Linked DNA regions of Homo sapiens: all the other regions are linked to region 1. Evidence: promoter capture Hi-C in 16 types of primary human blood cells and fetal thymus (Javierre and others, 2016). All regions are on one chromosome and are shown on one strand. Each heading gives the region's core, a stretch centred on a gene start or on the middle of the fragment in contact. The rest is flanking DNA. Distances are from core to core; before and after follow the strand shown. Region 1 holds the start of DEDD2 (death effector domain containing 2). Region 2 overlaps POU2F2 (POU class 2 homeobox 2). Region 3 overlaps MEGF8 (multiple EGF like domains 8). Region 4 holds the start of PRR19 (proline rich 19). Region 5 has its middle 5.7 kb from the start of POU2F2-AS2.

Region 1 (6,149 bases), core at 3,011-5,510:
TTACTAACCATGAGAACTAAATGTCCCTTCACAATGGACAAACATGGCAGATATCCCCTTAACCAAGTGACCAAACTTTCCCACATCGGAAAAGCCAGGCCGTACATGCCTGGAGATGTACTCCAATATGAACTAGATGGCAGCAACCAAGGATTATTCCTGCTAAAGATGTATAAACTGAATCTAACCAAGCCTCAGACACAATTCCCATTTAACAAAAAATGTAAGGGAAAGAGGGACGAGTTACATAACTCCATCAGGAAAAAAACAGACAGATAAAGAAACAATCAGGACATTCTACAAAACAACCGGCCTGCTAGGGTGAAAAAATCAATGTTACAGGAAAAAGAAAAAGGTATGGGGTGTAGGGGCAGTTTCTGTGCTATAGCAGGAGACATAACAACTGAATGCATACCAACTCAACTATGAATAGATTCTGAACGGTCCCACAGTCTGGGGATTTTTGAAAATGGACCATTAGAATGTCAGAGAATTCGTGTTTATTTTCTTAGGTATAATAGTCTTAAAGTGGTACAGGAGAATATCCTTATTCTCCACGGATGCCTAATTTAGGGGTAAAGCATCCTGATGTCTGTAATTTACTTTCAAAGGGTTCAACAAAAAAATCCAGAATTACGTATACACATAAAGCAAAAGTAGCAAAATCTTAACAATTATTGAACCTAAGTGGAAGATGTTAACTGTACTAATCTTTCAACTTGTATGTTTGAAATTTCACATAATAAAAAGAGGGGTGGCCAGGGCGCAGTGGCTCAAGCCTGTAATCCCAACACTTTCGGAGGCCCAGGTGGGCAGATCTCTTGAGGCCAGGAGTTCGAGACCAGCTTGGGCAACATGGTGAAACCTCATCTCTACTAAAAATACAAAAAAATTAGCCAGGCATGGTGTCATGCGCCTGTAGTTCCAGCTACTTGGGAGGCTGAGGCAGGAGAATTGCTTGAATCTGGGTGGCAGAGGTTGCAGTGAGCCGAGATTGCACCACTGCACCGAAGCCTGAGTGACAGAATGAGATTCTGCCTCAAAACAACAACAACAACTAGAGGTGGCTGGCATGATGGCTCATGCCTGTAATCCAGCACTTTGGGAGGCTGAGGTGGGAGGACTGCTTGAGGCTAGGAGTTCAAGACCAGCCTGGACAACAAGGGGGAGACCACACCTCTATAAAGGATGAAAAAATTAGCCAGGCATGGTGGCATACCCCTGTAGTTCTAGTTACTTGAGAGGCTGAGGTGGAAGGACAGCTTGAGCCCAGGAGTTCAAGGCCGCAGAGAGCTATGATTTCATCACTGCACTCCAGCCTGGGTGACAGACCAAGCCCCTATCTTGAAAAAGCCAAACAGAAAAAAACAAAAACTGGGGGTGGTGAGAATAAATAAGTTAATTGGGGCATGGCAATTAAAATAATACAATTAGAGATACTCAGCATGAATAAATCTCAGACACATCTAGCAAAGACAGCCAGGTGCAGAGTAATACCCACAATGTAATGCCATTTAAACGAAACACGAAACTATGTGCAACAATTCTGTATGTTGCTTCAGAACAGAGTATCTGTAGCAATAAACACACACACACACACACACACACACACACAGTGAAAATGAGACAGAATAACCCCTCAGGCCCCTTCCTTGATGGGCACAATTCATAAGGAAAAGAGGGATGCTGCCATTACACCCACCCAGCTGGGCTCACCTGTCTCCCACTGACCCTGCTGAGAATTTGCAGAACTGCTTGACTGCCGACGGCGACGGCAGCTACCCTCTGTCCTCTTTGAAGAGCTGGAGGTGCCATAGCTATAGCGTTCTGGAGACACTGGAGGAAGAGAAGAACAGGAAGAAGCATTCAGCCTCCTGGCCCTAATTCCCACCCCTGGAAGAATGCCTGCACCACGAGGTGCCTAAGTTCCCCAGTAGTCAGAGCCCAAATACCCACTCATTCTCAAACACCTCCTGCAGAGGTTGCTCAGATGCCTCCTAAGAGAGAGAACTTATCACGACTTGGGGCAATCTAACCCACGTCTACGGCAGCTCAAACTGTCAAGGTTATTCTGTTGATAGTCATGGTAAGGGTCCCTGTAATGGCCCTTTGCCCTGGCATCAACTGCCCCCAGCTCTCCCCAAGGAGTAAGCAGGCCTCTGTGCAGGCTCCCCAAATCTTCTCTTCTAGAGCGTGATCTTCAGACATAGATATCCAAAAATGCTGTCAGCTCTTCCCTAGAGCTGTCCTTCTCCTGCTTATCTAAATCCTGTGGGCTTACTCTGGGTCAGGGAAGGCCATAATCCCCCCTCCCCAAACTAGCCACTGCCCCTTTAGTAACCCAGACAAAGGCTTGGTCTATTCATGCACACGGCTACCGGCAGCCTGAACCCCTCCCAGCTTCTCATGTGAAGGCTGCTATCCTCCAGGAGCACTTCCTTCACAAGGATTAAGGGCATCAACTCTGGGGACAAGTTGGCTAGGTTTGAATCCTGGCTCCCACACTTCCCAGCTACGTTCTCTGCAAGCCCCTTCATGACATAACTTCTTACCTCCCTCTCTTCCCTAGCTTGGGTCCCCTCTGCTCCTGCCACACTGGCCTCTGATGATGCCAAACTCATTCCCACCTCAGGCCTTGGATGCTCCCTGGGATTTTCTCCCCTGGGGTCTATGCATGGCTGGCAGTGCAGCCTCAGGGCAAAGCCTCCCTTCACCTTGCTGCTCTCCTGACTCTCTCTATTCCATTACTTTTAGTCTTCCTACAACAGCGTCTAAAAATAAGTTCTCTTATTATCTGATTGCCCCCACTAAACTTAAACTTCATGGAACAAACACCTTGTCAGCTCCATCATCCTGTATCCCTCCTAGGCCCAGCAAACAGGATTGTTATTATACGTGCAAACTGCTTAACTTCTCTGAACTTGTTATTTTCTTGGTTACAGTGAAGACAGTAACAGGACTTCCTTGTGAGATTACTGGGAGACTATAAGGCACTAGTTCATATGAAGGGCTGACAGCTGTGCCTGGCATGAAACAAGCCCTCCGTAAACAGTGGCCAAAATCATCATCACTGATGTGGCCAAATTCCCAAAGCCATGCTTTCTTCCTCTTATGTTGCTCATTGATATTGTGGGAAGAGAGAGTAGCAGAATGGGACATAAGCTGCCTGATATGGCACTGTCCGTATCAGGGCACCAGGGAGGCCCAGCGGGAGCCAGGCCCTTTCCTCCCAGGAAGTGTGACACCCTCCCATTCAACCGTACCTGGCCGGCGCCGCTTGCGCGCCAGGTGCGGCAGCAGGTCGTGGCGGGCCAGCACGCGCAGGAGTTGCCCCAGCAGCCGCAGGTTGCTCTCGTCGCACTGCCCGCGGCGCTCCAGCTCCAGCAGGAGCTCTAGGCCGCTGCGGGCCCGGGCTAAGCCTCCGGCGGCGCCAGGAGCCTCATCCAGCAGAAAGGCCAGGAGCTCCAGCTCGCACTCGGTCAGTTGCCCGCCCACCACCTCGAACATACGGTGAAGCGACAGCATCCCGTAGTAGTCCAGGCACTCATCCTCCTCCCAGCACGGGGCCGGGGTCGACCCGGATAGCGCCATTCCCGGGGGAGGGAGGCGGAACAAGCTCAGAACCCGGCCTAGAACCCACACAGCGGGGAGGGGGCAGTGGTCAGCGACGCGGAGGCCCGAACCCCACACCGCCAGCGCGTCTCCCCCGCCCAATCGCGCCGGGCAGGGCCGCTCCCGCACCCCCAACCGCCTCGGCCTCCCCCTCCCCCGGGAGGGAATGGTCCCGCCCGAGGTCCCCTAAGAACAGGTCGGGACGCCGGAGCCCGCTCGGCTTCTGCCCCCACCACCGTGCTACGTTCGGAGCTCGCCTCCGGACCTGACCAAACGATGCGGCCCAAACAAGCCTCGGGGCCCACCCCGGGGCTCCCTGCTGACTGCCCCTGACTCTGGGTAGGACTGCCCAGACGAGCCCCTTTTCTCCGTCCAGCGGTACCGTCTGATGAGTCCCCCGGCTCTACGCAAGTGGTACCTCCCGAAAGTGACCCTCTGCCCCCTACACAGAGGAGCGACCCAGGCAGCCCCTTTGCTCCACACAGGTGGTACCGTCCGAACCCGACCCCCTCGCCCTGCAAGGGCGGCCCCGCCCGCTCCCCAGAGCCCAGGTGGTCCTGTCTACCCGCCACCAGTCACCATTAGGCCTCTCTGGATCCTCACCAGATTCTGGCGTCCGATGACTCCTGGGCGACGGCCGCAGCCACTTGTTTTGGATCTTTCTGGCACCTTCTCTATTATTACGCCTGCGTCACCTCGCCCCTCCTCCTTCCCCCAACTCGCGCAGGTGCGACCGCCACGCCCCTTCGGCGCATGCGCAGAACGAGGCCTCCAAGCCCCGCCCTTCCTGGGCCGCTTGACCTGCCCCCAACCGAAGCATCTTGGTTCGCGAGTGCTGCGCTTGCGCAGAGCGAGAGCACGCCGCCTCTTGGGCTGTATCTGGTACCCGGTTCCAGGTCCCTACTTCCTGCCCGTGACTCAAGCCACCGGGGCCATGTAGCGCCACGTCACGAGTAGTTGTAACTACTCATCTCATAAACTACAGCCCCCTCCTGATCACGAGCTAGACGCCCACATCACCACTGCCCCTAGTTGCCCGTGGCAAAGTAACACAATCACTACTTTCCCGTCTCCCAGTAAACTCCCAGGCCTTATATGATCTGGTCCTGGGCACTCCTCCATTAGATTGTCCCTCACTTCTAGTGACAACCAGGGATCTACATCTCAACTGTGCTCTCTCGTGATCCCAAATGGAAATCCCGCCCCCCCACCACCACCCCCGCAGTCTATAAGTTCCTTCCCCTGATCAAAACCAGAATTCCCTCATCTCACGTTCAGGACGGATACCTCCTTCCAAGCGGCAACAGAACCCTCCATTCCGACTGTGTACATCTCGATGGCGTCCATCACGACCCCCATCACAGTCAGATGTCTCCACCCAGAGCCAAAACGGCCCCTCCGTAACCCCTTCCAATCTCTGCCCTCCAGGGTCGCCCAGATACCCGCTCCCTAACTTGCAACAACTAGAGAGGGTCTGTCAGGGAGTCTAGGCTGTGGTGTATGCGTGTCCCCTTACCGCGGGGCCTTGGGTGTGACGGTCGCCACGCCCCCCACTTAGGTGACTCAAGGTCAGGACCTGCATGTACTTGAGACAAGTCCCCTCCCTGGACCTCTTCCCACCCCCGCAATTAACTCCTCTTGGGAGTCGGGAGATCTGGGTCCTGCCTAGCACTGGCCCAGTACTGGCTCTGCCTGAGCTGTAGCAGTGAATTCAAAAGAATCGGCTGCGCGCGGTAGCTCACGTCTGTAATCCCAGCACTTTGAGAAGCCGAGGTGGGCGGATCACACGAGGCCAGGAGTTCGAGACCAGCCTGGCCAACATGATGAAACCCTGTCTGTTCTTAGCCGGATGTGGTGGCACGCGCCTGAAATCCCAACTACTTGGGAGGCTGAGACAAGAGAATCTCTTGAACCAGGGAGCAGTAAGCAGAGATAGTGCCACTGCACTCCAGCCTGGGCCACAGGGCGAGACTTTGTCTCAAGAAACAAACAAACGCCAGGTGCGGTGGCTCACGCCTGCATTCCCAGCACTTTGGGAGGCCGAGGCGGGCGGATCACCTGAGGTCGGGAGTTCGAGACCAGTCTGACCAACATGGAGAAACCCCATCTCTACTAAAAATACAAAATTAGCCGGGCGTGCTGACGCATGCCTGTAATCCCAGCTACTCGGGAGGCTGACGCAGGAGAATCGCTTGAACCCTGGAGGCGGAGGTTGCCGTGAGCCGAGATTGCGCCATTGCACTCCAGTCCGGGCAACAATAGCAAAACTCTGTCTCAAACAAACAAACAAGACCGGACGCGGTGGTTCACGCCTGTAATCCCAGCACTTTGGGAGGCCGAGACGGGTGGATCACCTGAGATCAGGAGTTCGAGAGCAGCCTGACCAATATGGCAAAACCCCGTCTCTACTAAAAAATACAAACATTAGCCGGGCGTGGTGGTGGACACCTGTAATCCCAACTACTCGGGAGGCTAAGGCAGGAGAATCGGTTGAACCCGGGAGGCGGAGGTTGCAGTGAGCCAAGATCGTGCCACTG
Region 2 (6,149 bases), core at 2,479-4,978, 130 kb before region 1:
AAACGATGAGATAGTTTTGTTTCCCGGAGTCGAGACGGGGGACCAGAGTGTAAGGGGCAGATGGGGGTGGGGGGCATGAATTCCCCCATCACCTTCCCAACCCTGGCTCCCTCCAGCCCCCCAGCCCCTTGCCCTGGCTGGCCCCCAGCCAACGATATTTGGTTTCCTTTTTTTAACATTAAAGTTCTATGAGGTATTTGGTGCCTTATCTCGAGTCCTCAGGGGAGGGGGGCCCAGGGGGAGACCTGGGGCTCACCTGCCCCTCCCTCCCTCCTACCCCCTTCCCAATATTTGGTTTCACAGCTGTAGTTAAAGCTTGGGATTTGGTTATTTTTCCCCCTCCCAGGAATTTTTTTTTCTTGTTTTTCTTTTCCTAGGTGTGAGGGTTGGATGGGGAGGGTCCCCAGCACCCCCGGCTGCACAGGGGTCCCTCCACCAACATCAGGGCATCTGCCCCATCCCTGCCCCCTGCTCCTCCTCTCCTCTTTACCCCACTCCCACATACTGGGGTGGGGAGAGGTCCCAGGTGGTGGGACTTGATGGGGAGGAAGCAGGATGAAGTGGGTGGTGGTGAGTCCTGGATTTTCTTTCCTTTTTTTTTTTTTTTTTTCCTTTTTGGTCTAGAATCATAGTTTTTGTTTGAGTCATCTCCACCATGCCTTCCATGCTGCCTGTCTTCTCGGAGGGGGTTTTTGGTTGTAATTCCTTTCATTTTGCTCTGCTCAAATGTCCTTCCTATTTGGTCAGGAGCCCTTGGCCCCCTCTCCACCCTTGGGCTGGGGCCCAAGCCCTCTTGCCAGTCCCTTCTCTCTTCAGGAAATAAACATGGACAAACTCAGAGGTAGGGTAAGGGCAGGGAGTCGTTCAGCGGAGATGCTTACATTCCGGTGAGGTTGGGTAGACGAGGTGCCAGGCCCCATCGTGCCGGGGTGGGAGGGGCGGCTACTTCACCACTGCCCGGACAAGGCACCCAGAGGCCCCTGCAATGGCCGAGTCTCTGCTGCCTCCGTCGCCCAGCCCAACAGTTTCATTTCCCGGGTGGGAGAAGGGAGACAAGGAAAAAAGAGAACGCTGAGGCCTGGAGCTCCATCTGCCTCTCCTCAGAGTGTCCGGCAGAAAGTGGAAGCTGCCCAGGCCAAAGCCCTGCGGTCTCAGGGCTCTCCTCTCTCTCTGCTCCTGCCCAACAAGGGGCAGGGGCCACACTACGGCTGTCAGGCCCCACCCTGATTTCAATGGCTCGTGTCCTTCACTGCAACACTTTGGTTTGAGGAGAGACACAGAAAGAACAAGATTGAGAGAGAAGAGAGGAGAGCAAAGGGAGAGAGAGGAGACAGGAAGGAGGAGAGGAGAGAGGAAGGAGGGGAGGAGAGAGGAAGGAGGGGAGGAGAGAGGTCAGACAAAAGAGAACCGAAAAAGAAATCAAAGGAGGAATCAAACCACCCAAAAGTTGTTAAGTTTTCCTTCATCTGTTCTTTTTGCTTTCTTACTCCTTTTTTTCCTGTCTTTTTTTAAAGCTTTTTCAGTTGATTTGGGAGGGGAGTTTGGGGCTCTTCACCCCTGTCCCTGATACCCTCTCTCAGCCCCGCCCACCCGCTTCCATCTGCCCTGGCCGAGGGACAGGCCCTGCCCCAGCCGCCCCCTCCGGCTTTCCCAAAGACAACGTCCATGAGGTATTTGTGAAGAGAAAGAAGCATCCGTCCTTCCATCCGCCTTGGGGAACAAGGGCCTGGACCACCGGTGCAGGGGCTTGGCTCCGCCTCGCGGTTCCATCTTATTCTTGAAGAGTCCTCATCTTCTTTCCCTTTTATATATATATATATATATATGTTTATATATATATATAAATTTTTTTTCTAGTTTAAATTTATTGTTTGTTTGTTTCTGTTTTTTTGGTTTTCGGTTCAAAACTTTGTTGGCCTCCACAATAGCAGGAGGGCAGGGTGGCTCCCAGTGGTGTCTCTCCTCTGTCCGTCGTCAGTGGAGACGTGTCCGGGGCTGGTCAAACACAGGGTCCAGCCAAGAGTTGTGGAGGTCTTGTGGGAGTGGTGGCCACCACCGCGCCCTCTCAGATGGGGACCACAGGCTGTGGCACTGTCCCCACCACATGGACCCTGATGGGGATGCCATCTCGAGGAACCCCACCACTGGGGTGTGTGCGTGCGTGCATGTGGGGGGAGGGAGAGGCATTCGCCAGTACCAGAGGGGCACAGGGTGGGAAAAGCGAGGTGAGTTCTCTTTTTGGTTTCTGGTTAATGTCAAAGAACGTGAAGGATCCCACGGATAGGCACTGGAATATGAATTTTTTTTTTTTTCAGGGAAACAGACAGGATGGAAAAAGACAACTGAATGCCCTCAACTGAATGTCTTCATCCCCTCTTGCCTGAAATTTCCACCTTCCCATAGGCTGGGGAGGGAGTCAGTTCCAGAGCAGAGGAGGGTGACAGGGTTGAGGAGGGACTTGTGAGAGCTAGAACTTGGCAAAATGGCCTAGCCCACCCTTCAAAGGGGAAAAGAGGGAGGAACAGGGGATGAAAAGTTGTCCGCAGGCCTTCCCTTGAACTCTCCCCTGCTGGGGGGAGGGAGGAGGTTAAAGCAAGACCCCCTGCCCAGGTGGGGAGAGCTGGGGGCCAGGGGAGAAGGGGACACATGGTAGGGACACATTCTGTTGAGCACAATGCTAAAAATTCTGTACATCCTTTGGATGAAGCTACTGAATATTTGGTGTAAGGTTGTTCAGGCCCTTTCTCTTTCACCTTCTGGAAAAGAACATTTGGTGGGTGGTGCTAAGCCCCAGCCCATCTGCCCAGGCTGTGCCCTGTCTTCGCTGGCCCAGGGCTGGGGGCTGGGATTAGGAAGCTGGCATCTTCTCTTTTTCCTTCTGTAGCCCCCACGGGGGAGGCAGGGTTGGGGGTTGGTCCCACAGCCAGGGCTCGGTGGCATGAGGTCTGACCTGCTGGAGGCTTCTCCGCCCCTGGCTGGGGTTTTTATTTGGCGTCGTAGCAGTGAGGGTGAGCACGCTGAGGTCTGGCTCGCGACTGGTTTTTTGGTTTGTTTGATTTTGTGGGTTTTTTTTTTTTTTGGTTTGTTTTTGGTTTTTTTTTGTTTGTTTTTCACCTCTGGTTCCTTTGGGGCAGCTGGTTTCTGTTGTGATTATTTTTGGTTTTCTCTTTTGTTGGTTAGTTTCTTTCCTTTTTTTTTTTTTTTTTGGTTGGTTGTTTTTTTGGTCTTTCCTCCCTTGTCACTCCTGCTCTGAGGACCCTCTGCGTCCCCACCACTGGCCTCCTCGCCCTCTTCCCAGGCAAGGGACCAAGGCAGGGACCAGAGGAATGGGAGGGGAGGCATGGCTGGCCCTCACTCAGGTTTGGACCCTGCCTCGGGCCCCCCTGGACCTCCAGGGGTCTGTGCTGCCGTCTCGCTGCAAGTGGAGGAGGAGGAGGATGAGGATGAAGAGGATGAGGAGGAGAGGCCAGGAGACTTGCTGGAGATGGAGGCTGCCACAGCCGCAGCCGCTGCTGAGACCAGGCCCACACCAGGCGGGGTGCTGAGCAGGGGCAGCCCAGCATGATTCAAGAAGAGCGGCGAGGTCACCAGGCCAGGGCTCCCCGGGGCTGCACCGGCTGCCCCCAGCACCAGATTCCCGCTGCCATCAAGGCTGGTAAGGGGCAGGGTTCCACCAGAGGCCAGGGCTGGCGGGGAGAGAGAGAGGCTGGGCTAAGGGCATGCCGGGCCAGGGGAGACCTTTGCCTTCCAGCATCCTGCCCAGAGTGCCCCCCATCTCCCCATCGGTCCCACTGACCCCCATCAGCACCCCTCACACCTTCCCCAAAGGTGAGATGGGTATGAAGAGGCAAGCAATGCAGTGAGCAGGGGCAGGATGGCATGGCTGGAGCAGCAATGGCAGGGCTCGAGGCCCCAGAGGATAGGGCTGGTGACGATGGGTGTGACATGAGGCAGCACGCACCTTGGATAGTGGCCAAAGGGTTGTTGCTCATGAGGGCTGGACTCAGCCCGGAGCTCAACCCCACCATTGTGCTTCTGCAAGAGGCAAAGCAGAGGCATTAGCAGGGGCAGGGACCTGCCAACATAACTGGGGTGCCGCTCCCCACCCTAGAAGCAGCAGCGACCCTGCTTCTCCCCACAGCTTCCCACGTGCACCCACTTACCCCGTGCTGGGGTTCAGGCCTGACAAGCCGATAGCCGAGTGGCTGCCTTGAGGGCTGGGGTTTGTGCTGTTGGTGGTGGCCGGGGGTGGGGGAGTGACAGAGGGGATGGAATTGAGGGGGGGCGCAGCCCCGCCCCCGCCCCCACCCCCTCCAGCTGTCCGGCTGGGGTGGAGCGTCCCCACAGCTGAGGATAAGGTAGTAACTGCCAGAGAGAGACAGAAAGATGGGGTCTTCAGCTTCCACTCGTCCCCCACTGAGGAACCTGGGGTCAGCTCCTACTTGTCCTCCCGCCCAGCTCACGCAGCATCTCCTCAGTCAGAACAGCCTTAGACCTCCCTGCCCTCTCTTCCCAGAGTCATTTCCCTGTGCCTCTGCCATGGTGACCCCTGTCATAACAATGGAAGTCAGAGCAGGTGCTTCCTGCTGAGCCCTGGCACTCTACACTCCCTGCCCTGAACCACTTTTTTACCGACTAGAAACGGGGGTGCCCAGGAGACAAAGCCCTATGGCTCCCTCTAGGGGCTGGGGAGGGGCGAAGGGTGCCAGGCACACTGCCACATCTGAGGGATGGGCAACCTGGCAGGGGCTGAGGGCCCAGACTCAGCCAGACTGCTGGGGTAGAAACTCCTGGCTCTGTCTCATCCCAGTGGTGCCCTTGGGTGAGTGCCTTAACCTCTCTGACCTTCAGATCCCTTGTCTGGAAAATGGGGATAATAATAGACCCTATCTCATAAAATGAGTTTGAGAATTAAGTCAGTCAATGCAGTTTAGAAAGAGTTTAGTACAGTGCCAGGCAAGCACTTACTACTTTATAAATCTCCACTTACTATTTTCTAGCCTGGGGAGGGGCAACGTGTTGTTTTATGTGTATATATATTATGTGTATATATATTATGCATATATATATTATGTGTGTGTGTATATATATATATATATATATATTTTTTTTTTTTTTTTTTTTGAGATGGAATCTCACTCTGTCACCAGGCTAGAGTGCAGTGGTGTGATCTCAGTTCACTGCAACCTCCTCCTCCCGGATTCAAGTGATTCTCCTGCCTCAGCCTCCCGAGTAGCTGGGATTACAGACACACGCCACCACGCCCAGCTAATTTTTGTATTTTTAGTAGAGACAGGGCTTACCATGTTGGCCAGGCTGGTCTCGAACTCCTGACCTCAGGTGATCCACATGCCTTGGCCTCCCAAAGAGCAGGGATTATAGGCATAAGCCACCACACCCAGCGAATTTTATATTATTATTATATATATGGTGTATAACCATACATATAAACCTACCGTGTCCCAGGAAGAGGGAGGGGAACTCTGGATACAAGACTATGTATGTATGCATGTATGTGTGTATATGTACATACACATACACTCTTACATACATGTATTTATATCTTTTTATGTTTTACACATTCATAATAATTTAATAAAAACTGAGGCTTAGAAGGATAAAATAAGTGCTTGAATTCACACAGCTTAAAAATGACAGAGGCCAGGCACAAAACTCAAGTGCCTCACCTTTTACCAGGCCCATGCTTTTCTCATATGAAATCGTGAAGCAGATTAAAGCTGAGTTGCTCCTGCAGAGGAGGGGTGAGTCCTACCCTCTTCCCACTGTCTCTCCCATTCCCCCACCCACACTCCCCAGGCCCAGTCTTGAGGCCCATGGACACCCAGAGCCACTTGGGAACCTCAGGCTCCAGCCTGTGCCACATCCTCCCAGTCCCCCCTCACCATTTTCTGCCCTCCCTGACCTGTTGTGCTCAGACTGCTGGAAGCTTGGGACAACGGTAAGGTCCCCGCGCCCCCTTGGGGTGTGACCTGAGGAGAGAAGAAAGGAGGTGTGGTTAGCCACTGTCTGCCAGCAGCCCCCGTGATGCTCCCTGTAGGACCCCACTCCTCCGTCCCAGGATGGGGGCAGGGGGCTTTGGCACAATGCTGCATTTGTATTATTCCACATGCTTTCTTCACACTTGCCCT
Region 3 (6,149 bases), core at 2,717-5,216, 110 kb after region 1:
CTTGGGAGGCTGTGGAGCTTTGTCTTTGTCTGGGGGCTCTGGGGAGCTATGGAAGGGTTTTGAGCAGGGAGAGGACATGATCTGATTTATGTTTTAGAAGATCTCTCTGGCTGCTGTGTGGGGTATGGATGAAGGCCTGTTTCTCAGTGATAGCATGTCTACCTGTTCCCAGCTTGGGGGCCATTCCTGTCAAGCTAGTGGGATGAGAACAGAATAGGAAGTGTGTGTGTGTGTGTGTGTGTGGCGAAGGGGTCTGTGTGCTGGATATAAATCACTCTCTGGCCTTAAAGAGTCCCAGACTGGTTAGGCCAGGTGCGGTGGCTCACGCCTGTAATCCCAGCACTTTGGGAGACCAAGTGGGGCGGATCACCTGACGTCAGGCTTTAGAGACCAGCCTGGCCGACATGAAGAAACCCCCTCTCTACTAAAACTACAAAAATTAGCCCTGCGTGGTGGCGCACATCTGTGGTTCCAGCCTGGGTGACAGAGCGAGACTCTACCTCAAAAAAAAAGAAAAAACGTCTCAGACTGGTTGGGAATGGTGGGGCTGGACACAGATATTCAGCCCCCAGTGTGTTCACTGAGACAGTGCTCAGGGCTAAGAAGGAAAGTGGAGGGGTGGGGTGGATGTACCTAGGGAGGAAAGAGGACTGTGCTGCAGATAACAGAGCAGGAGCCACTAAAATAGGGTTCTGAAGCATGCATAGGAGTTTATTGAGTGGGAAAAGGGAGCAAACAGCCTCTATGAAGACGTGAGGGTGGCTGGAGTGTCTCAGGATCCCCATCTAGGTTTGCCTGGTCTTATGGCACTTTTGACTGGGAGGTAATGAGAGCCAGAAGCAGGGGAAGAGGGGCCTTGAATGTCACACTGAGCAGCCTGGCCTTCCCCTTGGGGTTGATGGGCAGCCACAGGAGGTTTTGAGCAGGAGTAGGGCATTGCCCTCAGGTTGGGTGTGGGGCAGACTGGAGACTTGATGAGCTGATCTGGCAAGAGAGGATGAGTTCCTAACTAGGGCAGGGGCTTAGAGGGGTGGAGAGGTGTAGACAGTGCAATCGATGTTTGTGGAGTTTCACCTATAAGACTTGGGGACCAACTGGGTAGATGTTGGGGTGAGGGAGGAGGCTGGGAGACCTCCAGATCCCCCTTGATGATCTTCTGTTCTTACCAATGCCTGTCACTTCTTACCTATAAGAACCAACATCTTCCTCTATCTATTATAAAATAAACAACCAGCCAGGGGCAGTGGCACATGCCTGTAATCCCAGCACTTTGGGAATCTGAGATGCAAGGATTACTCGAGCCCAGGAGTTAGAGACTAGCCTGAACAACATGGTAAGACACTGTCTCTACAAAAAAATTACAAAAGATTAGCTGGGCTTGGTGGGTGGTGGCATGTGCCTATAGCTCCAGCTACCGGCGAGGCTGAGGTGGGCAGATCCCTTGAGCCTAGGAGGCTGAGGTCTCAGTGAGCCGAGATTGCGCTGCTATACTCCAGCCTGGGCAGCAGAGCGAGACCCTGTCTCAGGGAAAAAAAAAAAAAAAAGATAAACAACCAACCTACTAACTTTTGTATTATGTTCATACTTTATCTAGTCCTAGACTTTTTTTTTCCGAGAGAGAATCTTGCTCTGTTGCCCAGGCTGGAGTGCAGTGGCTTGATCTCGGCTCACTGCAGCTTCTGCTTCCCAGGTTCAAGTGATTCTTGTTCCTTGGTTTCCTGAGTAGCTGGGATTACAGGCATGTGCCACCATGCCGGGCTAATTTTTGTATTTTTAGTAGAGATGGTGTTTCTCTATGTTGGCCAGGCTGGTCTCAAACTCCTGGCCTCAAATGATCTGCCCTGGGATTACAGACGTGAGCCACCACGCCCAGCCCAGTCCTAGTCCTTATAACATCCTCATGGATAAGAGGCATCCTGCTTTTGAGCAGGAGGGAGTTTGGGATCAGATTTCTGTCTGGAGTGGTATGGGGGTTGGGTGGAAACAGAAGACCTTCAACTTAGGGAAGAACTTGGGGAGGCAGATGGTGAGCTGGCCTCCAGCAGGCACTTAACAAAGATGTACTTGTGATTCCAGAAACAGAGCTTTATAGTTTGGTTGAGGCTGGTAAGATTCTGGGAGGTCTGGTTGTGTGGCCGTGCTGAATGGTTCTTCTGCATTCCCCAAAGCATGGGTGGGGTCTGTGTCTGATGTCTTGGGGGCTCTGGTTAGAGCCTGAGGGAGAGCTTCCAGCTTTAGTATTCTGTCTTTTATGTATTTCTTCATTTCATCATCCAGCATTTCCTGAGCCTTTGCCAAGCCCGGGTCTGGGCAATGCTGCAGAGGGAATTAGGTCCACATCCAGGCCCTGCTCTATGGGCCTTGTAGGCTGCAGGGAGACAGACCTGGACATAGATGTTCCTGGCCCAGAGGAATGAAGGTTATAATGGGATGTGAGAACCCTGGAGAGGGGGCATCTAACCCAGCTAGGGGGCATCAGGAAGAGGCCTGGTGGTGGGAAGGGATAATATGTTGCAGACAGAGGGAGAAGCTTGTACAAAGGCCCAGCTCCCATTAGAGCTGTAAGCAGTGGGGTGATTTGAGACAAAGCGAGGGTCTGAACAGCAGGTTAGGGACCTGGACTTTCTCCTAGGGTGGTAGGGAGCCATGCAGGGCTTTGGGGCAGGGGAGGGACGGGGCCAGATGTTGAGTTGGGAAGATCAGAGACTCATGTCAGGGGAAGAAGGAGGTTGGATCAGTGGTTCTGGTGAGACAGGATGAGGCCGGGCAGCCAGGGCACACTCTGGCTCTAAGCTGGCAGGCTGGAGTCATCACCTCGTTGAATGTTCACCCCAGCCTTTGTGGGTGGGGGGAATTATCCCCATTTTACAGTCATGGAAACTAAGGCTCAGAGAGCCCATGGAACTGGCCCAGGATCACCCAGCCATTGGCAGTGGTGGCTGAGTGTCTCCAGGATCCAGATAGGCACACTGAGGGTCATGGGGGAAAGGGCTGGCCCAGGGTCCTCCAGCTGGTCATGGGCAGAGCCAGAGCCAGAGCCAGAGCCTAGGCCTCCTAATTTCCCTCACCCAGAGGACTCCCCTGAGCTGCCTGTTCAGAAGGCTTCTCATGTGGGATGTGGAATGAGAGAGGCTACCTGAACTAGGACTGGCAGAGAATAAGACAGTGACAGTGTTAGGGGTAGTGGCACTCTCCACGATATGTGGGCCCCATTGTCAACATTTCTTTTTTTTTTTTTTGAAACAGAGTTTCACTCTTGTCGCCCAGGCTGGAGTGCAATGGCATGATCTCAGCTCACTGTAACCTCTGCCTCCCGGGTTCAAGAATTCTCCTGCCTCAGCCTCCCAAATAGCTGGGATTACAAGCATGTGCCACCATATCCAGCTAATTTTTTGTATTTTTAGTAGAGACGGGGTTTCACCATGTTGGCCAGGCTGGTCTCGAACTCTTGACCTCAAGCGATCCACCCACCTTGGCCTCCCAAAGTGCTGGGATTATAGGCGTGACCCACGGCACCCAGCCTCTTTTTTTTTTTTGAGTCCCCTCTGTCGCCCAGGCTGGAGTGCAGTGGTGCAATCTTGGCTCACTGCAACCTCTGCCTCCCGGGTTCAAGCAATTCTCCTGCCTCAGCCTCCTGAGTAGCTGGGACTTGCACCACCATGCCTGGCTAATTTTTGTATTTTTTTTTAGTAAGAGACAGGGTTTCACCATGTTGGCCAGGCTGTTCTGGAACTCCTGACCTCAGGTGATCCACCTGCCCTGGCCTCTCAAAAGTGCTGGGATTACAGGCGTGAGCCACCCACCCCACTCTGTTGTCACCATTTCGTGTGCATTATTGCTCCTCATGAGGTTGCAGTCAGATGTCAGCTGGGGCTGCAGTCAGCTGAATGTTCACCTTGGCTGGACATCCAGGAAGGTCCCTCCCAGGGCTGGCAGTTGATGCTGGCTGTCAGCTGGAAGCTCAGTTGGGACTGTCAGCCGGAATGCCTGTGTGTGGCCTTTTCTTGTGGCTTTGGCTTTTCTTTGTTTTTTTTTTTGAGACGAAGTCTCGCTCTTGTCCCCCAGGCTAGAGTGCAATGGCACAATCTCGGCTCACTGCAACCTCTGCCTCCCAGGTTCAAGCAATTCTCCTGCCTCAGCCTCCCAAGTAGCTGGGATTACAGGCACCCGCCACCATGCCCAGCTAATTTTTGTATTTTTAGTAGAGACGGGGTTTCGCCATGTTGGCTAGGCTGGTCTCAAACTCCTGTCCTCGTGATCCGCCTGCCTTGGCCTCTCAAAGTGCTGGGATTACAGGTGTGAGCCACCGTGCCCAGCCGGCTTTGGCTTTTCCTATCATGACAGCTGTGTTCTGAGAAGGAGCATTCTACGAGGCCCAGGTGAAAAGTACAAGTCTTCTTATGATCTAGCCTTGGAAGTTTCAGAATTTCTGCTGTTTTTTTATTGGTCAAGCAAGTCACTAAGGCTCTTCCCAGATACGAGAGGCAGGGAATTAACTTTCAATGGCAGGAGTGGCCTATAAGTTTGATTCCACCACAGTACCACTATATCCCACTTTAGAGATGAGGAGACCGATCCAGAGGGGGTGGGTTACTTGGCCAAGATCACACAGCTGGTAGCTATTTGGTGGCAGAGCCAAGACATAAGCTCAGGCAGTCTGGTTCCAGAGTTTGTGCTTGTAACCATCACAATAAGCAGAGGTGAGACTCTGGATGGGGACAGAGGGGAACTATGCCGCTCCAAGGTTAGGCCTCTGTTCTGGGGGAAGAAGCTGGACTCTTCTCTTGCAGCTCTATTCAGCGTGGGCCAGGGGTGGTGTCACGGAGGTGCTCTTCTCACTGGGATTATGACCTTGACCCTCCAGCCTGGACATGTCTGAAACTCAGGCATGGACAGGAAGAGAGAGGCATCAGGAACACTGGATTCTGCTCTGTGTGGCCACTGGGATGGGGTTTTCTCTGTACTTAATTTTCCCATCTGAATGGTGGGAGTGTTCATTCTGATCTCAGGTGACCTTTCTAGAGGTCTGGAATATTATGATTCTTTCTCTGGGCTCCTGTCCCTCTGGCTGTCACAGCCCTTGACTGCCCTAGGTTATGAGACTGGGGGCCCCTTCAAGGCGGGGCCCAGGTCTGACTCATTCTTGAGCCCCCAGCATCACCTGGATCAGGGTTTGGTGTACAATTGTGGGAGGCTGCAGGGAGGTGTGGGGAGAAGGTCCGCTTTAGAGCTTGGTCCCTCTGTGCTCACCTCCCAGCCCCAAGCCCCCAGCACCGGATCCTGCTGGACTTCCTTTTCCTGGACACAGAGTGCACGTATGACTACCTGTTCGTGTATGACGGTGACTCCCCGCGAGGGCCGCTGCTTGCCAGTCTAAGTGGGAGCACCCGACCTCCGCCCATCGAAGCTTCCTCAGGCAAGGTTAGTGGGGATGGGGCCGTGGCAGATACACCGAGGGAAATGGAAGAAGAAAGGAGGGACAGAGAGTCAGTAAGAGGGCATCCAAGAGCAGAGCACAGGGACAAGGGAAGGTGGAGAGAGGCAAAGGAAGGAGATGAGGCTCTGGGTCCCCCAGGGTGGAAGGGGGCAGGAGTGGGCCACCCTCCCAGGACAATCCCCAGGCCCTGCCCACCTTACCCAGCACACCTTGTGCCCGCAGATGCTGCTGCACCTCTTCAGTGATGCCAACTACAACCTGCTGGGCTTTAACGCCTCATTCCGCTTCTCCCTGTGCCCGGGTGGCTGCCAGAGCCACGGGCAGTGCCAGCCACCGGGTGTGTGTGCCTGCGAGCCGGGCTGGGGGGGTCCTGACTGTGGCCTGCAGGAGTGCTCAGCCTACTGTGGCAGCCACGGCACCTGCGCCTCGGTGAGCCGGTCCCCAGCCCTGTTTCCCCTGGGGCCCTGATCTGTGAGCGCAGCCTCCACGCCCATCTCCTAGGTCTGACCTTGCTCCTGCATGAAACTCCCCCCACCACCCCACCCTCCTCCGTGACACCCACTTCCCTCTCCTTCCAGAGCTTGCCCCTCACCTGTTACTCCAACCCCACCCCACCTTCACCTGCAGGGCCTCCCCTGCTGAGGATATCCCACTCTCATCTATACCCCACTCTCATCTGTGAACACCACCCTCCTTCCTCCAGCCAGGCCCA
Region 4 (6,149 bases), core at 1-2,500, 84 kb after region 1:
TCGGCTCATTGCAATCTCTGCTTCCCAGGTTCTGGCGATTCTCCTGCCTCAGCCTGCCAAGTAGCTGGGACTATAGGCATGTGCCACCATGCCCAGCTAATTTTTGTATTTTTAGTAGAGACAGGATTTCGCCATGTTGGCCAGGGTGGTCTCGAACTCCTGGCCTCAGGTCATCCGCCTGCCTTGGCCTCCCAAAGTGCTGGGATTACAGGCGTAAGCCACCACACCCTGCCTAGAGTCTCTCACTTTAAACCAAGCCCCAGGCTCTGTTGCTCATGCTGAGGTGGGCGGACTGCTTGAGCCCAGGAGTTCAAGACCAACCTGCGCAACAGGGCAAAACCCCATCTCTACAAAAATTACAAAAATTAGCCAGGTGCATGGTGATGTGCACCTGTAGTCCCAGCTACTCGGAGACTAAGGTGGGAGGATCACTTGAGCCCAGGAGGCAGAGGTTGCAGTGAACAGAGATCATACCACTGCACGCCAGCCTGGGTGACAGAGCAAGACCCTGTCTCAAAAACCAACCAACCAACCAACCAACCAACAAAACAAACCAAGCCCCATAGAAGCAAGACTCACTTCATGAAAATCCAGTCTGCTTGAGCCATGCATTGAATCAATGGCATTACAGTTGAAACTTATTTTGATGAAACCCATTACAGTTGGACATGCTTTGTGGAAAGATATTATTATGATTGAGTCCTCTTTGTGGAGTGCCATTAGAGTTGCCCTTCGCTTCCTGTAAAGTGACTATAGCTTTGTGTAAACCCAACAGGGCTGCGCACTACTTAAAGCAAACAAGAAAGAGCCTCACTTTAGGCAAGCCTATGGCAGGAAAGCCTCATTTTAGGTCTTAGTACATTATACACAAATCCAATCTGATAAAACCAAGGCATACATTTCTTTCTCAATAGAATGTTGCACCTTACACCAAGATTCTCAGAGCCTCGGGCTGCCTGAGGCCAATCTGGGTACTCTCATAATACCTCACCTGGCCTGGGTTCTGGTCCAGATGTGTCAGCATGGACACAGGGCTGGATGGGGCAGGGGGAGAGGGACTGCCCTCACCTCGCACTGGTGCATGAGCTGGACCAAGGAGTCCCCGATGAAGACGACTTCGGGTTCCTTATCTTTGCTGTCAGCCACGAACCGATGGTGCTGCGGGAGCGCGCGAGAGGGAGTCAATGGCATGCACGCTCCAGGGCCCGCCCCGCCCTGCTCCCTTAGGCAGCGCCTCCTCAACTGCCCTCAGTTTCCCAATCAGGTAGTGAGAGTGGCACGAACCAGCCGTTCTCCTGAGCCACCCCCCGCGCCCCCGGACTCCTCAATATCCCAGGTGGGAACGCTCACCAGGGACATCCAGCGCCCGTCGCCCTGTACGTCCTGCACCGGCGTGGGCTTGCTGGCTGGGTTCTCCTCTCCACTCATCTTGGCGCCGCAGCTCCTGCAGGATGAGCGAGTCGGGTCGGCCCGGGAGTGTTCCGAACGGAGCTGGCTCCGCCACGCCCACTCCTACCCCTCGCGGCAACAAAGGACCGTCCCAACGCTAGCACACCCGCGGAGGACGAAGGCCGATACAGGGCGCCGCCTCCTCTCCAGGGACGGAAGCCTTCACTTAGGAGGTAGGTGGAATCAGGAACCTTCGCTTCCCCCACGACGGCCGCACAGTGGGCTCGCCCGGCGCTTCCCGCTCGGGCCGCTGACTCCCAGGCCGCGCACCCGGCACGGGGTGGGGGGAGGGAGAGGCGAGACCATCCAGCTCCCGAGGCGGGGAGGAGGGAGAAACCACCCACCGGTCACGGGGAGGGGCGAACTACCTGAAGAGTCGAGAGTGGGCGGGGAAAATCTAGCCCTCTGTCTAGCAAATGGGAAGAAACCATTTGCTGTACAGAGTGAAATGTGCGGAAGGGACCACCTACTGTTGCGGGGGGGGGGGTGACCCATTCACGTGGTGGGGGGAGGGGAGCGAGTGGACGAGTCCATTCTTATATTCCCTTGAAGGGGTGGCTCGAATGCACCTGGCTGGGGGGGACGCTCCTATTTTCTACTGATGTGGGGGACAGAAAAGGAAGATGACAAAATGTGAAAATTCGAGGCTCCCTTCTAAGGAGCCACTCTAAGGCCGCGCCAGGGCTTTAGTGAGCCTATCTACTCGTGGGCTTCCCCTACTCAAAACACCGTGGGTGTGTGTGTGTGTGTGTGTGTGTGTGTGTGTGTGTGTGTGTTGAAATCTAAAGTACATATCTTTGCATTCAAGACATCACAGGACCCCTACTCAAAACACCGTGTGTGTGTGCGCGCGCGTGGCATAACATATAAACTACATATCTTTGCATTCAAGACACCATAGGACCTGCTTGGAGGGTAGAAGAAGGTGCAGAAAGAGAAAGGAAATTAGAGACGCCTCCAGGGCTCAGGTCCAGTCTGGCGTCCCTCCGGCAGATCATCTTGCAGATCTGCAGCCTCTACACTCTCTCTAAACCCACAGGCCAACTGGGTATGTCTGAGCTCTGAAACCTACATCCATAGCCAAGGCCACCTAGGGTCGCGCCTCTCCCCCAACGCTGCCCCAAATTAATCTCAGACCTCAGTGTCTTCTCAGATCTCCCTCTTCTCTGGGACCAGGTGGGGGGCTCACTCCCTGCTAAACGTCCTGGTCATGTTCTTGTAGCCTCACTCCAGGTGGGACCTTCCCATGTATTCATTCCTTCGAGGTGGATTGATACTGAGACAGAGATGAGTGTTATTCATTGTGTTTATGTTTTCAATCCACTTTCCTGGAACTGGGCCGGGCACACAGTGGTTATTCCACAAGTGCTTGCTGAATGAGTAGTAAATGAGTGGGTCAGCTCCTGACCTTGTCCCAATGTGTTTAGGGAGACAGATCCAGACACAGAGGTGTAGGGGTGTCAAAGTTGTGTTTGAGGGAGAGACAGGGACCTCTGGGGAGGAAGAGGAGAAGGACTCTGAGGACTATGGGTTTCCTAGGAGTAGTATCTCAGCTGGGTCTGAAAGATAATGAAGAATGGGCAAGCAGAAAGAAAAGACACAGGTAATCACTTTCTTATTAGGTTTGGGGAATATCGTGGAATAGCTTGATTTTAAAGTCTGAGGGAGGCCAGCATGGAGGCTCATGCCTGTAATCCCAGCACTTTGGGAGGCTGACATGGTCGGATCACTTGAGGTCAACCAGCCTGGCCAACATGGCGAAACCACGTGTCTACTAAATATACAAAAAAAAAAAAAAAATTAGCTAGGCATGGCAGCACACGCCCGTAGTCCCAGCTACTTGGGAAGGCTGAGGCAGGACAATTGCTTGAGTCTGGGAGGCAGAGGTTGCAGTGAGCTGAGATCGCGCCACTGCAGCCCAGCCTGGGCAACAGTGGCCCAGCTTGGGTGACACAGCGAGACTCTGTCTTAATTACAAAAATAAACAAACAAATAAAGTCTGAGGGAGCCAGGTGCAGTGATGCATGCCTGTAGTCCCAGCTACTGGGGAGGCTGAGGTGCGAGGATCGCTTGAACCCAGAAGTTTGAGACCAGCCTGGGTAACACAGTGAGACCCTGTCTAAAAAAAAAAAAAAAAAAAGGCTGGGCGCGGTGGCTCACGCCTGTAATCCCAGCACTTTGGGAGGCCGAGGTGGGCAGATCACGAGGTCAGGATCGAGACCATCCTGGCTAACACGGTGAAACCCCGTCTCTACTAAAAATACAAAAAATTAGCGGGGCGTGGTGGCAGGCGCCTGTTGTCCCAGCTACTTGGGAGGCTGAGGCAGGAGAATAGCGTGAACCTGGGAGGCAGAGCTTGCAGTGAGCCGAGATGGCACCAGTGCACTTCAGCCTGGGAGACAGAGCGAGACGCCGTCTCAAAAAAAAAAAAAAAAAAAAAAAGGGCAAGTGCCTGTAGTCCCAGTTAGTTGGGAGGCTGAGGCAGGAGGATAGCTTGAGCCTGGGAGATGAGGTGGCAGTGGCCCATGATGGTGTCACTGCACTCCAGGTTGGGTGACAGAGTGAGTCCCTGTCTCCAAAAAAGAAGTCATAATCAGCTAGGCACGGTGGCTCACTCCTATAATCCCAGCACTTTGGGAGGCTGAGGTGGGCAGATCACTTGGCGTCAGGAGTTCAAGACCAGTCTGACCAACATAGCAAAACCCCATCTCTATTAAAAAATACAAAGATTAGCTGGGCAAGGTGGTCTGCGCCTGTAGTCCCAGCTACCTGGGAGGCTGAGGCAGGAGAATCGCTTGAACCCGGGAGGTGGAGGTTGCAGTGAGTTCAGACTGTGCCACTGCACTCCAGCCTCAGTGACAGATTTAAATTCCATCTCAAAAAGAAAAGGAAAGAAAAGAAAAGAAAAGAAAAAAGTCTTAATTATGCCTTCAAGTCAGTGATATAAGAGAGAATTTTTTTTTTTTTTGATAGAGTCTCGCTCTGTCGCCTAGGCTGGACTGCAATGGCGCGATCTCGGCTCACTGCAACCTCTGCCTCCCAGGTTCAAGCGATTCTCCTGCCTCAGCCTCCTGAGTAGCTGGGACTACAGGCGTGTGCCACCACGCCCGGCTAATTTTTTGTATTTTTAATAGAGAAGAGGTTTCACTGTGTTAGCCAGGATGGTCTCGATCTCCTGACCTCGTGATCTACCTGCCTTGGCCTCCCAAAGTGCTGGGATTACAGGCGTGAGCCACCATACCCAACCGAGAAAAAAATTTTTAAAAATAAAGTCTTAGAGGATAAGTTGGAGCAGTTCCTGAAGCAAAGCTTAGTGAGAAACAAAGCTTCCAGGCATTCTTCATTCACCAGGCCCATTTCAAGTTAGACATATTGGTCTAGTTTATCCTTCTAGCAACCAAATGAGGAAGGTAGTTTTATTACCAACCCAATTTTACAGGTCAGAAAACTAAGTCTGACCAGTTACAAACATTTCCAAGGTCACACAGCCCAGTTGTGCCATTTTGGGCATTTAAACCAAGCCTAGCTATGAATCACAACACTACACTAACTTTTTTTTGAGATGGAGTCTTTCTCTGTCACCCAGGCTGGAATGCAGTGGTGTGATCTCGGCTCACTGCATCCTCCACTTCCCAGGTTCAAGCAATTCTCCTGCCCCAGCCTGCTGAGTCGCTGAATATACAGTCGTGAGCCAATGCATGTGGCCTAATTTTTGTTCTTTTACAGGGTCTTGCCGTCTCCCTCAGGCGGGCGTGATCATGGCTCACTGCTGCCTCCACCTCCTAGGCTTAAGTGATCCTCCTGCATCAGCCTCCCAAGTAGCTGGGCCCACAGGCAAGAGCCACTGCGCCCAGCTTATTTATTTATTTAGAGACGGAGTCTCGCTCTGTCGCCCAGGCTGAAATGCATCTCGGCTCACTGCAAGCTCCGCCTCCCGGGTTCACGCCATTCTCCTGCCTCAGCCTCCCGAGTAGTTAGGACTACAGGCGCCCGCCACCACGCCCGGCTAATTTTTTGTATTTTTAGTAGAGACGGGGTTTCACCGTGTTAGCCAGGATGGTCTTGATCTCCTGACCTCGTGATCCGCCCACCTCGGCCTCCCAAAGTGCTGGGATTACAGGCGTGAGCCACCACGCCCAAAGCTAATTTATTTTTTGTAGTCAGGGTCTCCCTATGTTGTCCAGGGTGGTCTTGAACTCTTGGGCTCAAGCCAGCCTCCTGCCTCTGCCTCCCAAAGTGCTGGGATTACAGACGTGAGCCACCACGCCCGGCCAACTGTATAAGTTTTCTAGGGATTATGTCTGTGGCTGCTTGGGGGACAGCTGTGCATGGGGGCTACCATGACCCTTCTTCCCTTTGGCACGCCTGGTCTCAACTAGCCCTCGAAAGACCGCTGATAGCTATCTGAACCAATCAGCATTCAGGAAGGGGGCGGACCTAGTGAACCTCACAGCCAATTGAGGGCTGGGAGGTGCTGAGACCAAGAAAGGGAGATTTCTGAAATTGAGGCTGGGAGGGGAGGGGCTATAACCGGCGCTTCCCTGGCACGCGCCGCTAGGTTTCCGTCCTCTCAGAGCCACGAAGCCAAAGGGCATGGAAAGGGCACGCGCATGCGTGTGGGGGAGCCCGAGGCCCGGAACAGCGCCAGGTGACTTCGAGAGCTGGGGTCACCGCGGAAAAGAAGCCATTGCGCCCCACAG
Region 5 (6,149 bases), core at 1,656-4,155, 71 kb before region 1:
AGGCTCGTCCCCTTACTTACTCCAGAATTACACTTAAACACCCCCTCCACAGAGAGGCCTTTTGACATCCTGTCTCACATGGCACTTCTCATCACTACGTCCTCTACCAGGTTGCACTTTCTTCTAGCACTTTTTGCTGTCTCACCTTCAAGCCTCGTGTCACGTGCTTGTTTATTACCTCTTTTCCCCCAAACTGAATGTTTATGCCAGCACAGGGAGCATGTGTGTCCCATTATGTCTCATCCTGTCTTTTAGAAGGATCCCAGGTGCACAAAATTGGATTAATCATAATCCTTGGTTCACAGCGTACTCCCATCACTGGGCTGGATGGAGCCCTCTTTCTCTATCCATTCACTTATTGTTTTACTTATTTTTAATAATGAGTTAATGTGAACCCACATTCACCATTCAGATTAGAACCATGATAATAATCATACTAGCCTGTGTCTGTCCTCTTCACTGCTGTGTCTCCAGCACCTGCAACCCAGGAGGTGCTTGGTATTGATTTATTGAAGAAGCTGACAAAGGGGCAATGACCTCCACACCCTGCAAAAGGGAGCTAATGGGAGTGCCCACCTGGCCTCACAAGGCGGGAGAAGAAGGCAAAGGCCAGGCCCTCCACTCAGTTCCCCTGTCCTCCCCTGGTGCTCCACTCCTGCTCAGCCTGGGCAAGCGCCTCTTCCACACGATTCAGTTCCACATCTTCAGGGAGGGCCCACTGTGCCAGACCTTGTGCCAGGAGCTAGGGACACAGGGTGGCTCAGCTTGGCCATGCTCCTGAGGAGCTCTCAAGCCTCGATGCTCCAGGCCCCTAGACCATCCCACTATTCTACTAAGTAACAAGAGCAGCTACATGGCACCTGCTCTGTGCAGGCATATGTTATGTGTATTCTTTGCATCATCTTTTGGCATCTTCCCAACAATTCACTAAAGCAGGGGCTGTTATTATCCACCCCCTTTTCAGAGGAGCACCCCAAGGCGGGTCAGAGAGGGCAAGGACTTGCCCAGACTCAGTCATGGGCAAGCCAATTCCAGAGCCCAGCTCTCCTTGCCCCAGGCCTTGCTGTTACACTGATCCCATGCACATTTCTCTTCCTCCAAAGTCTGTGAAGTCCTGGGCCTCTTGCATCTCTGCAAAAGCAACTGAGGATGGCTGAAAAGGTGTCAACTTTAGAGTCACATAAATAGGTAGTTAAGTCCCAGCTGTGGGGCTAGGTGTGGCCTATGTGTCACTTGGCCCATGTGTCACATTCCTGAGGGGATGAAATTAAAACAAAATGTGTATTTTTTACTTTATAGTTGAATGACACTGCCAGACCACACCACCAGTAAGATAGTATGCATTTTGTTTTAATAAATCCTGAAATGACCTTATAAATATCAGTTAACGTGGCATTTTATTGTTGTCATTGCTAAAAGCACAGGTCTGTAAATCCATTTCAGTATTCCTTCGTTCTTAGTACACTAGGAGGCTCAAGAATTAGAAGCTGCCTTGGCCTCTCTCAGCCTCTGCAAAGACTGCTGAGTCCTAGCTGTGCAACTTTGAGCAAACCACTCAGCCTCTCTGTGCCTCTCTCAGAACTGTGCGGACCCTGAGCAGCATCCACAGAGGGCCCTGCCTACAGAAGGTGCTCTACATTGATTCAGAGGAGTTTAACTTAACGGAACTGTATTAGCCCAGATCGCATGAGACACAGTGCCTGTCATCGTTGAAGCAAACTCTGAGCTCTGGACATTTGAAGGAAAGTGAGGGATCAAGGAAGAAGTCTAGGTTGTTGTTGTGACAACCATTTACTGAGATGGACACAAGCTCTTGGAAAAGCTTGGGAGAGGGAATCAAGAGTTCTGCTTTAGGCTGGGTGCAGTGGCTCATGCCTGTAATCCCAGCACTCTGGGAGGCCAAGGCAGGTGGATTGCTTGAGGTCAGGAGTTCGAGACCAGCCTGACCAACACAGTGAAATCCGTCTCTACTAAAAATACCAAAATTAGCTGGGCATGGTGGCACACACCTGTAATCCCAGCTACTCGGGAGGCTGAGGCAGAAGAATCACTTAAACCCGGGAGGCGGAGGTTGCAGTGAGCTGAGATTGCGCCACTGCACTCCAGCCTGGGTGACAAAGCGAGACTCTGTCTCAAAAAAAAAAGAGTTCTGCTTCCCAGGAGGTGGAGCTTGCAATGAGCCGAGATCGCGCCACTGCACTCCAGCCTGGGTGACAGAGCGAGACTCCGTCTCAAAAAAAAAAAAAAAAAAAAGAAAAAAAAGAGTTCTGCTTTAGACAAGTTAAAGAGAAGCCCTCCACCTACTATTAATATTTAGAAGCATTTTCTCACTGAATCTTCTCAATACTCTACAAAAAAGCATTGTTAACATCCCCATTTTACAGAGGAAAACACTGATGCCCAGCAAAGTTAAATCACTTGGCTGGAGACACAGATGGAACCAGGATTGGCACCCAGGAAACCGGACTCCAAAGTCCACATTGCCATCCACTGTTCTCTTCCTCTCCCTCAAACCCTTGCCCACCCTGTCCCATTGGCTCAGCAGAAACACTGGCCTTGGACCTGGGCTTTGCTGTCTGAGACATCCATGTATCTCCCATCCCCGTCCCCAGTTATGGCCTTCTGCCAATATGAACCATTCACTGAGTGCCTTCACATCACCTGCCCACCTTGATTCACAACAATTCTGGGATGCAGATTGCACAATGCTCCCCAGCTCCACTTTGTGGGGCCCTAGCAGATTCTCCGAGCTCATACAGAAAGACCAGCTGTGAGGGGAGCCAACACCTTCAAATCTACTCGCTCCCTACACCACCTTACTCAGAGCTCACCTCCTCTGTGGAGTCTCCTAAGGGAAGGCCCCCCCATTCACATCTGTGCAAGATCCCGGTCTGGCAAGAAACTTCTCAGTGCCAACCAGGCACTTTAGGGTTCACATGGAGAACATTAAATATAAGCAACCCAGGCATCTGCCTCATGGAGGCTTCCTGCAGCCTCCTAGGGAAAAAGTAGCACCTGACCTGGTAAGAGGAAAAGCTCAGGTTTGGAAGGGTCAGACTCTCACTCTCTGCTCTCCACTTCTTTGAGCCTTGATATTGTCACCAATTCCAAAAGCGCTGTCTGATTCCTCCACTCCTCCCACTGCAGTCCAGGCCACCACCACCTCTGGCCTGAGTGACTTCAGTGGTCTCCTCCCCGAAGGTGTCCCTTCTTCCATGCCTGTCTCAGATAGTCTCGTCTCCCCTTGGCCCCCAAAGGGGGTCTTTCTAAAACGTAACCAGGTGGTGTCACTCCCTTGCTTAAGATTCTCCAGGAGCTTCCCATGCATTTGGGAATAAAACTCAATCACCTTAACCCAACCTATAAAGTCCTATGTCATCTCACCCCTGCTGACACCTCTCATCTCTTCCCCCATCACTCACCTCTTTGCCTACCCTGCTCCAAGCCATGCTGTCTCCTCTCTGTTCTTTAAACCATGCTCTTTGCAACCCCAGGCCCTTCGCATGTGCCATTCCCTCTGCCTGGAACACTGTTCCTGTGCTCTTTGCCCCATTAAATCCTACTCGTCTTTTAAGGTTTGGCTTAAATAACTTGCCCTCTCTCCTGGCTCCCTATTCTAGTTTATTCTTTGGGATAGACTTATCAGTTCCTGATTTTGTATTTGATTGATGTTTACACTTAAAGATCTGCATCTTCTCTAGTTGTCAACTCCATGAAAATACACCATGCTGGTTCTGCTGCCTGCTACATCTTTAGTGCCCAACAAACGCTGGGCACATAGTGGGTGCTCAACAGACAGGTGGAATGAATGACTTAAATGGATCCTGCATAGGGACAAGCACCTGAGGCAGAGTACTTAAGTCTTCGAAGCCTCAGTTTCCACTTCTGTAAAATCAAGATAATAATTCCTCCTTTACAAGATAGTGGTGAGGATCCAAATAGTCAATGAATATTGACAGTGCGTTGGGAAAAAATCCTCTGCAAATACAAAAGCTTAAAGACCTGGAACCTAGAGGATGGGCAGGAGTCAGAGAGAAGAGCAACAGGAAAGGGCATGGCCATTTATCAGGTGACATTGTGTTTTGTATTTCCCCTTTCCCTGACCCCTATGAGGTAGTAGTTATGACCCAGAGGAGGAAATAAGGCTCAGACAGGAGAAGCCCCCTTCCCAGGGTGTCATGGTGAGTCCATGGAAGAGCCGGGATTTGTACCCCTCACACTGAGGCAGGCAAAATGGTCATTGCAGGAGAAGCATCCCCTGATCTCTTGCCCCCCTCTTCATCCTTCGCCCCCAAAGCCCTCACCTCTTTCCAGGTTTCCTGGTCTTGGCCTGAATCTCATACTCCTCAGCTGATCCTGCCAACCTCATCTCCACCCCAAGACCCACCCAGCCCTGCCCCAGCTGACACCTGGTTCTTGTGCTCACATCCTGGCCTTTCCCACATGGCCCAGAGGGACCTTTCTGTCTTCTATTAGGAAGGCCTTGTACTAATTGGAAAACTTTTGTTTGACGGTAATGCCAAAAAATTCATAACTAGTGAAAAGTAAGCACTGTTTCAGGCATAAGCAAGCATATAGCATGTGGGTAAATACGTGGGTCTGTACACGCCTTTGAAACACAAATGCCGTCTTCCCACATCAGAGGGATCTCTCTAACACAGAGATCCTCACTCCCCTCCGCAAACCAGGTAGCTGTGAGGCCAGAGGTGGGGAACTGTGAAAGCTGCACTAATGTAGACCTTGTTGGTGTTGGGTGGAGGTGACTGGTCCTAGGTGAAGGAGAGAGGCTTGGAAAGGACACCCAGGGTCATCCTGAGATCCTCCTCATCCTCCAAATGCCCCCATCTGTCAACTTCCCCTCAATTCAACCCAAAGATGTCTGAATCCCTCTGCTCCTCCGGCTGTGCCTCCCACTCAGGACTTGCTCCTCCCCACCCCACCCCACCCCAGCCTCTACTGTTGCACGGGTTCTTCCTCACTTGCTCCACAAATGTCCCTTGAATCCTGTCTGTGTGGCAAGCAATGAACCAGACACCAGTGATGTCACGGCCCCTGCTCTGGGGAGCTGACAATGGACATGGACCCAGGCGTCTTGAATCCACGCCCCATGTTCCTTAAAGCATGACCCTGGTTGGGCCTCGCTCCCACCCAGACCGAGAGGAAAAATCTTGGCACCCTAGACCTGCCCACGTCTGCAGCTTCACCTTCCCAAGCCACCATGAGAAGGAGAGAGGAGGGGCGACCATGTTCCCCAGCCTGAAGATCCTGCCCTCAACTCCCTCCCTAGGAGACAGAGGACCCTGGGCTTTCAAGGCAACATAATCCACAGGGGAGGCCGTAAACACCCTTGGAGTAGCTCGCTTTTCAGGGGAAACCAAGGCTCAGGGCCAGCATGACTTGAGCAAAGCCACACAGCGCGTCTGTGGCAGACAGATGGGCCCCACCCCTCAGTTCCCAGCTCCATCTCTGCGAGTGTAGACTTGTTTGAACTTCCCTAGACACTGACACTGCCAAGAGAAAGAAGAGGGGCTTAAGACCCTTTTTCTGCGTGTTCTGCTGATGTTCCAAGGACCTGAGCCTCCACTTCTTTCTATGGCTGTGGGAGGGGAGATGAACCAAGAGAGATGGGGCTAGACAAGGGATGTGGGGCGCAGGCAGGGTAGAAAAAGACAGAGTGAAAAGCATACAGCAGGGCAGAGAAAAGAGGGGTGTAAGGAAAGAGTAACTGGGGACTATCAAGGTAGAACAGAGAAGTGTATGGGGGTTTTTAAATCCCTGGAGGGAGAGGCAGCAATAAAGGAAAGAGAGTCAGAGTCAAATAGAGAGACAGAGACAGGAAGATGCAGATAAAGAGGTAGAGAGAGAGAACAGCAGAAAGAGAGACAAAGAAAACAGGAGAGAAAAGAAAGAGGGAGGGAGGGGGAAGAGCAAGCAGAGGTGGGGCCACAAGGGCCTCCTGTAAATTGCTTCCCAACACCCTCTCCCCTGCCCCTCACACCAGCAGTCCAGCAGGGTGTGTGGTGTCGTCCCCATCCCTGAAGGGGCTGCTCCGGGCAGAGCTGAGACTGACACATGGGAAGGTGTCCAGCTCCCGGCCCTCTCTCTTTTCCTGCACCCAGCTGCCTCCCAAAGAAAAGGGCCAAGTTCAG

The links. Contacts are between HindIII fragments. The CHiCAGO score rates a contact against its expected background, and 5 or more counts as called.
Region 2: a fragment that was not itself captured here is called in contact with the fragment with the promoter of DEDD2 in region 1 in 3 of 17 cell types (total B cells, non-activated CD4 T cells and monocytes); the score reaches 6.0 in total B cells.
Region 3: a contact is called between a fragment that was not itself captured here and the fragment with the promoter of DEDD2 in region 1, in 5 of 17 cell types (neutrophils, fetal thymus, monocytes and 2 more). The highest score is 6.3, in neutrophils.
Region 4: a contact is called between the fragment with the promoter of PRR19 here and the fragment with the promoter of DEDD2 in region 1, in 12 of 17 cell types (total CD8 T cells, total B cells, naive CD4 T cells and 9 more). The highest score is 12.0, in total CD8 T cells.
Region 5: a contact is called between a fragment that was not itself captured here and the fragment with the promoter of DEDD2 in region 1, in 3 of 17 cell types (monocytes, total B cells and fetal thymus). The highest score is 5.8, in monocytes.

The regions. Positions count from the first base shown.
Region 1 is chr19:42,213,417-42,219,565 of GRCh38, forward strand. DEDD2 (death effector domain containing 2) reads right to left here and starts at 4,261. Exons shown (of 5, transcript NM_133328.4): 1 at 4,216-4,261; 2 at 3,264-3,629; 3 at 1,717-1,836. The coding sequence starts at 3,591. RefSeq lists silencers at 3,392-3,597, 3,679-3,738, 3,749-3,848 and enhancers at 4,620-5,496, 5,497-6,149. The HindIII fragment of the contact is 12,709 bases long and covers 1-6,149 here.
Region 2 is chr19:42,087,906-42,094,054 of GRCh38, forward strand. POU2F2 (POU class 2 homeobox 2) reads right to left here. Exons shown (of 15, transcript NM_001394376.1): 12 at 5,924-5,990; 13 at 4,164-4,365; 14 at 3,962-4,035; 15 at 1-3,686. The coding sequence ends at 3,352. Among named protein-coding and RNA genes, the nearest start is that of ZNF574, 15 kb to the left of the region's middle. The HindIII fragment of the contact is 4,433 bases long and covers 1,513-5,945 here.
Region 3 is chr19:42,328,348-42,334,496 of GRCh38, forward strand. It overlaps MEGF8 (multiple EGF like domains 8), which reads left to right. Exons shown (of 42, transcript NM_001271938.2): 2 at 5,258-5,421; 3 at 5,660-5,866. Among named protein-coding and RNA genes, the nearest start is that of MEGF8, 5.8 kb to the left of the region's middle. The HindIII fragment of the contact is 2,877 bases long and covers 2,529-5,405 here.
Region 4 is chr19:42,300,882-42,307,030 of GRCh38, forward strand. It overlaps PRR19 (proline rich 19), which reads left to right and starts at 1,251. Exons shown (of 3, transcript NM_199285.3): 1 at 1,251-1,622. PAFAH1B3 (platelet activating factor acetylhydrolase 1b catalytic subunit 3) reads right to left here and starts at 1,743. Exons shown (of 5, transcript NM_002573.4): 1 at 1,351-1,743; 2 at 1,069-1,158. The coding sequence starts at 1,428. RefSeq lists enhancers at 1,218-1,267, 1,348-1,477, 1,430-2,084 and a silencer at 1,638-1,857. The HindIII fragment of the contact is 26,667 bases long and covers 1-4,756 here.
Region 5 is chr19:42,143,800-42,149,948 of GRCh38, forward strand. It overlaps a transcript of POU2F2 not described here. Among named protein-coding and RNA genes, the nearest start is that of POU2F2-AS2, 5.7 kb to the right of the region's middle. RefSeq lists an enhancer at 5,733-6,149. The HindIII fragment of the contact is 2,171 bases long and covers 1,821-3,991 here.